Linked DNA regions of Homo sapiens: region 2 is linked to region 1. The links are contacts of gene promoters, found by promoter capture Hi-C in human tissues and cell types (Jung and others, 2019). All regions are on one chromosome and are shown on one strand. The core of a region is centred on a gene start or on the middle of the fragment in contact, and the rest is flanking DNA. Distances in the headings are between cores, read along the strand shown. Region 1 holds the start of KCNB2 (potassium voltage-gated channel subfamily B member 2). Region 2 overlaps KCNB2 (potassium voltage-gated channel subfamily B member 2).

Region 1 (3,418 bases), core at 687-3,186:
AGCCTAGATGTCTAGTCTAGATGGGTTTTATTCATGTATTACGTTAAGCTTTGGACAACTTTATATTTATTGACACACACACACACATGCCCCTAAAGAGTGAAATAGATAAAACAAAACTTTATTTTCTTGATATGTAACTTTAGAATGTTACCCTCTTTTACAAAATCTTTCCTGTAAGTTATTCAGCACTGACAGGTAAGACAAGATTTTTGACCGAAATCTATCTCTCGCTTGTCCTATGAAATGTAATATATTGATTGCTGTTTATTGGTAAATAAACCAAGAGACTTCCGACCCACACTATACTACACATTTAACAATAACAATAAAATGCTTACTCTTCCTTTCCCTCAGTTTCAAAAAATCAGATTCCCAACAAAATAAAAAAATTAATCAATGCAAAAATGAAAATGTGATACGATACTTAAAATCTTGACATTACTACACAACTTGATTAGAAGGAATGTTGAACCTGCGCGGAATTAACCCAGTGTATGTGCATACTAAATTTTTTTCAATGTAATCTTGTATGCATTATTACTTATTGTTGAAACACATGTGCAGTCATAAATGTTGCATAAATGGCATGTTTGTGCATATTGCACACTGACAGTTTTTATGAATGAATACGCATAAATGCTCACAACTCGAGAAAATGGATGGCGGCATACTATTTTGAAGAGGATCATTAAGCATCGGGAGCAAATGATGAGGCAAATGGTCGATGTCTTTTGGTGCTATTCAGGGCAAACGTATTCCCAAGTCCCCTAGCAGAGTGTGTTGGAAACAGCCATGAAGCTCTTTCCTTAGAGACCCGTTCTCCCTCTCAGGAATCGTGCTACAGAACGGAGACCGCGCACCGCTTGAAGAATAAAATGCACGCATGTCTCTGTGTTCTGAGGATCGTTCATACATCAGAGACATCACACTCCCTAAATCCAGTCCCACAAGTGTGTGCATGTGAGTGTGGCATTTACCAACAAATGGACGGAAGGCAACAAGAGCTCGGCTCCTAGAAATAACATCCCCATCCCTTCCCAGTCAGGCTGCTGGGAAGCTTTTCAGGGGCTAATACTTGAGCGCCTTCCCCACCGGGAAGGAGCCTGACATTAAAAACCCTCTCAGGGCTAAGTCAGCTTTGTGTGTAAGTCCACTGGGCGCCATATGGCAGTTTCCAATTCCTTTAGCAACTCAAGTCTGGCTAGGCTGCCGCGATGATTCATTCTTAAAGGAAGACCCCCTTCGGGGAGCAGCAATGCCCCCGCCACTTACCTAGCTCCCACAGACCCCGCTCAGCAGGCGGCACGGGCTCGGGCACCACAAAGGGCTGTGGGATTCCCCGCTCCCTCCGGGGAGCCTCTCCCCGCGACGATCCCCTTCGCCAATGACCTGTCGCTGGAAATCCCCCTCCCCTCCACAGAGAGGAGGGTCTCCCCGGCTGGCTGGAGCTCCCGGCGTGCTTTCCCCCTGTCTTTACATCCCTGACTCTGGTTCACGGTCTCTAGTAGGAAGGCTCAGAGGAAAGGCGGCGGGAGGAAGCTAAGGCATCCTTTAAAAGAACAATAATCTTCATCGATCTTCAACCCCTTCCCCACACGGGGTCCCCATCCCCCTGCCGCCGCCACAGCCACCCAGACAAGAGAGGGCTGGAACAGAAGAGGAAAAATCGAGCGGGGCTGAGCTCGCCGCGCGGAAGGAGCCAGAAAGCGAGCCGCGCCAGCCCGGGAGTTGCCGCTCGCTGGGGCTGCCCGAGGCGCAGCGGCGGCGGCGGCCGCGGGGGCGGAGGGCGGAGGGCGGAGGGCGGTGGGTGCTTGGTGGGTGTGTGTCTGTGGCGGAGCAGGGTAGAGGCTGCGCGCGGGAGGCTAGGCGGGGCGCTCTGGGGCGCCGCTCCCCCGCCCCGCAGCTAGCCGGCCCGGCGCGCACACAGGGCTGCGGCCACCCCAGCCTCCCGCTCCGCCTCCTCCCGCGCTCCGCGCACCCGCGGGCTGGAGCGGCCGCCGCCTTCTCTTCCTCCTCCCCCTCCCCCTCTTCCTCCTCAGCGCTCCCGGCTGTCAAGGTGGGCGGCGGGGCGGGATGGCTGGGCTGCGCGAGCCGGCAGCGCACCGCCGGGGACGCCGGGGCTCTGCCTCGCGGCGCCGGAGCTGTGCGCTCGGCCGGGGACAGCGCTCTGGTGCCCAGGGCGCGGCTGGGGCGCGGGCAGGCACCGCCCACACCTCGGCGGGGTGCCTCCCTCAGCTTCCGCGCGCCAGCCACTCCTGCTGCCCCGGGCCTGGCTCCACACCCACCTGCTTCGCTCTGCAGCTCCCACCCGGCTGCACTGGACTAGAGGGACGCAGCCCCCGCGGCTGCCGCGCACCCGGGGCCGGGAAAGCCCCGGGAGGCCCCGCCGCGACGCGCTCCGGCGGCTTCGCGGGATTCCCTCGGCCCTTCTGCTTCCAACTGCAGGGCTGTCCTCCCGCCCGCCCACAGCAGGACCCTGACCCTGGGCTGACTGCTCGACCCCGGGGAACTGGGGCGAAGACAGATGGCTCCTGAGTGGTGGTGCCAGGATTATTTTCCTGGAGAAAGAGCTGCGGAGATAACTAGGAGCGCAGATAAGATCTGACTTTCCTCGCGGCACCTGCAGCCCCGCTCGCTCGGGGGCCGTCCCTAGCCCCAAGTGACCCGGCTTTCCTGGGTTTGAGGGTAAAGCCGGGTCCGTGGCAACCTTAACCCTTGCTTCTCACGGGGGCGCTCTTCATACCCTTCTTTCTTTCCTTTGCCTATCAACTTACCAGCTGGAAAACTATGCCAAGTTACCCCTTGGCGAGGCCGCAGGGTGAACACTTAGACCTGTACCCACTTCCAGGGCTCGGTAAAGACAATGAACTTGAATAATAACACTGAGCCTTACATATTTCTGACCCCAGTGCTCCTTCACAGGCACGAAATAGAGACAGCTGGCACGGTTACAGGGGCTTTCAGGAAAACAAAGTAGCTTAAAACACCTTTTAGAAACGAACGCAGGCCGTGACAAGTCTATTTAAAGCTGGGACTCCTGAGTTTCTATAGACCAAGAAGGATGGCTGTTGAGGAAGTTCCAAGTACACTGTTTTATTTATATTTATTTATTTATTTATTTATTTATTTTTTCCTTGTATCTTCTGTTTATTGAGTGTTTTTTTAAATTTTATTATTATTATACTTTTAAGTTTTAGGGTACATGTGGGTTTGTTACATATGTATACATGTGCCATGTTGGTGTGCTGCACCCATTAACTCGTCATTTAGCATTAGGTATATCTCCTAATGCTATCCCTCCCCCCTCCCCCCACCCCACAACAGTCCCCGGTGTGTGATATTCCCCTTCCTGTGTCCATGTGTTCTCATTGTTCAATTCCCACCTAGGAGTGAGAACATGCGGTGTTTGGTTTTC
Region 2 (3,538 bases), core at 885-3,384, 41 kb before region 1:
ACTATTGGACAATGATAGGAAAGGAATGAAAAATACAACTAGAAATACAACTGTGAGAAAGCCAGGCTGTGGCTAGACTGGGTATGAATATCAATATGGCATTAGTGTGGGGCACTCGACACACATTTGATATTTCTGGGTTTCAACTCTCTAATCTCTGTAATACAATTAATGATGTGTTCTCATAGGATTGATATAAAGTAGTGGTTGGCAAACTATGGCCTGTGGGCTAAATTCACCTGCTGTCAAGCTTTATAGGAACCCAGCTACTTCCATTGGTTTCCATAGTGCCCGTGGTTGCTTTCTCACCACAGCAGCAGAGCTGAGTAGTTGCAACAGAAACCTTATGGCCCATGGAGCAGAAAATAGTGACTCTCTGGCCCTTTACAGAAAAAGTTGTGGAGTCAACATCAAAAAATCAACAAGCTTAGTGTATGGCACATAGCAGACACTCAATATAAATATAAATCTCTCCCCTCCTGCTGTTTTGAGAAAGTCATATTAATTACTGAGGGGATGTGAGAAAGTGCTTTTCACTTCATGACCCTGGACTGCAGGGAACAAGTTCCTTTTTTTCCCCCAGGCTGGGAAGGAAGCAGTATTGTTAGAAAAGAATTGGTCTCAGAATAAGAAGATAGAGTAAGGGTTGCAAGAACACTCTGATGATACTAGGAAGTTGTATCCATACCTCACAGAGGACTTTGAAAACAGAAGCTAATACAGCCTTGTGAAAGCATCTGTTACTGTATTAGGTATCAATTAACAGTCTCTTTCCCCAGAGTTAAATTTCTGCTCAAATAGAAGGCTCTGGGGATAGTGACGCTATTACGAGAAAGCGGAAAGTAAAACCAGCTTAACTTGCACAGCCCGAGTTCACGGATTAAGGGAGGGCAGAGGGTGGGTGAAGAATCAGCTTCTCTCAAAGGGAGAGGAAAAGTATTATGTAGATGCTGATTTTAAAGAGTTGACAAGAGAAAATTCTACTTGTCTTAGCCTCCGATGCTTTAGGATAAAGAAAAACACACACCTTCTTTATAGATTAAAGTCCAAATGAAATCCATTTGGAGGGTGAGCTAGCTTCTTCAATTCGGACTCTTACAATATTCAATTTTGTGAAAATTTAAGTAGACATCAACTCATGAAAAGATTTACAACCAGATGAAAAATAAATATGAAGTCTGATTGGAGCCAAAGAAATTCAGTAGAAAATCAACAGTTGTTCAGTAAAGTATAACCCAAACAGTCCTAGGTGAGGAGGGCTCTCGAGGGGCTCAGTGGGGCTCTGAGCGGAGCAGGCAGTGGGAAAGGAGCTAAGAAGCAGGTATGTAGAGATTAACAGAACCTCCTCAGGCAGAAATAAAATCATGGCTGAAGGAAGAAAGAAAGACATTTCCTTATTTGGGCCGTGCTGCAATGAAAATGACATCTGGATATTTTCCAAGTTCCCATTGGTGGCAATATGGTGCCTTAGAGAACCTCTTCTGCACAGAAAGTACACCATGAGGCCACCCACCCCACCACAGCCAGGTCAGATAAACAGCAAAGGCCTGTCATCTGATCTGCAGGCTCACTTATTTTTAAATGTATGCATCAAAGTGCAACGGGGGAGAAAAGCTCATCAAAGCTTTGGCATTTGCCAAACAACTCAACCAAGATGGGTAAACAAAGAATCCAAAACAGTTTTTTTTCAATTATAATATTTATTTCTTTAAGTTCATAAATACACTTGGTATATTGTTAAAATCTGCCTATCAAAACAGTTTACTGCCTTAAAGTTTCCTCAGGCTAATCTGTATATAAAACTATTTTTAAAAGGTGTGTGTGACTAGCACTTGGTAAATATTCCATGTAATTTAAAATATTTATAATGGCTCATGAGTTAGAGTCTGAAAAATAAAGACCAGGGCTTAAAACCGATTTTTTTTGCTTTGAATTTTAATATTACTCATAATGCAATTACTTTACTTATATAACACAATAATTTTCACACCTGCAGAATTCTTTTAAGAAATATAATAAAGTGTGTTAGCTTTTTTACATAGCAAATATGAAATGGCAAATTCATGTTATCCTAGATTCTGGCCTACTATTTCATATTTTCACTGCATACATAGTTCATTCCATCTGTAGTATGGCAAATTATCACCTTTTAGAAAGTAAGATTACCTACTAACGTTTTTCTGCCTCTAAACTAAAAAATGCACTGAAATAGAACAGGTTGTTCACCACAGGGATATTATGTAGGGCCTCTGCTAGTTTCCCAAAGTAAATTTCCATTGTATTAATGAAATACATCTAATTTATCACAGCATGACTCTGTTGCTGTTCTTCAGAGTGTCATTGATTTATTTTTTAATTCAACCAAATCCTGAATAAAACTACATGCTCTGACATGAATGTACAAGTTAGATGGTCCTATACAAAATGTTGCCAGATACAAATGCAATTCTAAGATACAAACTAAAATGTGAGTGTTTTAAAAAATCTATATTTGAAGAATCCATTTGGTTAAGAACTTAACTTAGATGACAGCAGATAGGACAACTGCCCTTCAGTATTCCAAATTGAGCTCTAGATAGTATATTGATTAAAGCTAAAACGATGACTTGAAGGCTAGGGTTCTTCCTCTCCTGTGCAAATATCCTGAGGTTGGTTGCAGTGACGGATGCTGCAACCAAGCAAACCCATCTGGAGCTGCACCGGGTTGACTTGGCTGTCCTTGGCACTGCTGTGGCGTAGGCTTGAAGTAGCTATTTAAAGTGGCATCCAACACTTGGGGTTGCATCACGAGTGACCCAATGAGAGAGAAGTTAAAGCGTGAAATCTAGGGTGGCAATGACCTCTAGCATCCTGAAACAAAATCTTGGGAGACTAATAAAAATATTTCTTCCTTCTATTCTTGGACCATGAGAGCACTTCCTATGAATTTTCATGCCCTATCAGGTTATCACAAAAGTTTGTATTCTGAATGGGCTGACTGTCTTATTTGGATGACAAAGTTGCATCTATTCTAAATTGCCAAATACATGCTGAAGTTCATTGCTTTTTCTGCAGGTGGGTTCTTTACAATAGAACATACTCTAATGAAGAGGTGGTAGTATATATAAGTAACATCTCTCTCTCTCTATCTCTTTCTCACACACACACACACATACACACACACATACACATGGGCACATACAACAGACTTTGTCTGGGTACTACTCAGTGAGGGCTGCTGCTACTGGCTTCAGCCACCGTAGACACAGAAACTTGACAACAAACATCAGTTGGGTTCAGGTACCTGTCCTTAGTAATATCCAGAGGAATTCTTTTACTTAAAACTTTGTAAAGACATTAAAGGAGATGATTTAAGTGGAAAAATACATTCATTTTATGCATTAGTTAAGGAGTTAACTTAAACCTAGATATATGCACAGCCAAAAATAAATACTATATGGGTGCAAAGTCTGATATAGTTCTGATGTTAGTTCCTAGTATCTCCTGGAAAAACTTTGGAGAGATGAAAGCAAATGTCTTCCTCTTCCATTTTTCTATT

Evidence for each region. The method cuts DNA at HindIII sites, captures the fragments that hold promoters and counts their contacts. A contact is called where the count stands out against the background at its distance.
Region 2: a contact is called between a fragment that was not itself captured here and the fragment with the promoter of KCNB2 in region 1, in 2 of the 25 tissues and cell types used here (dorsolateral prefrontal cortex and hippocampus).

The regions. Positions count from the first base shown.
Region 1 is chr8:72,535,743-72,539,160 of GRCh38, reverse strand. It overlaps KCNB2 (potassium voltage-gated channel subfamily B member 2), which reads right to left and starts at 1,936. Exons shown (of 3, transcript NM_004770.3): 1 at 1,276-1,936. RefSeq lists silencers at 1,877-1,926, 2,087-2,146, 2,157-2,206, 2,217-2,346. The HindIII fragment of the contact is 6,044 bases long and covers 555-3,418 here.
Region 2 is chr8:72,576,920-72,580,457 of GRCh38, reverse strand. All of the region lies in intron 2 of KCNB2 (potassium voltage-gated channel subfamily B member 2), which reads right to left. Among named protein-coding and RNA genes, the nearest start is that of KCNB2, 41 kb to the right of the region's middle. The HindIII fragment of the contact is 3,592 bases long and covers 339-3,538 here.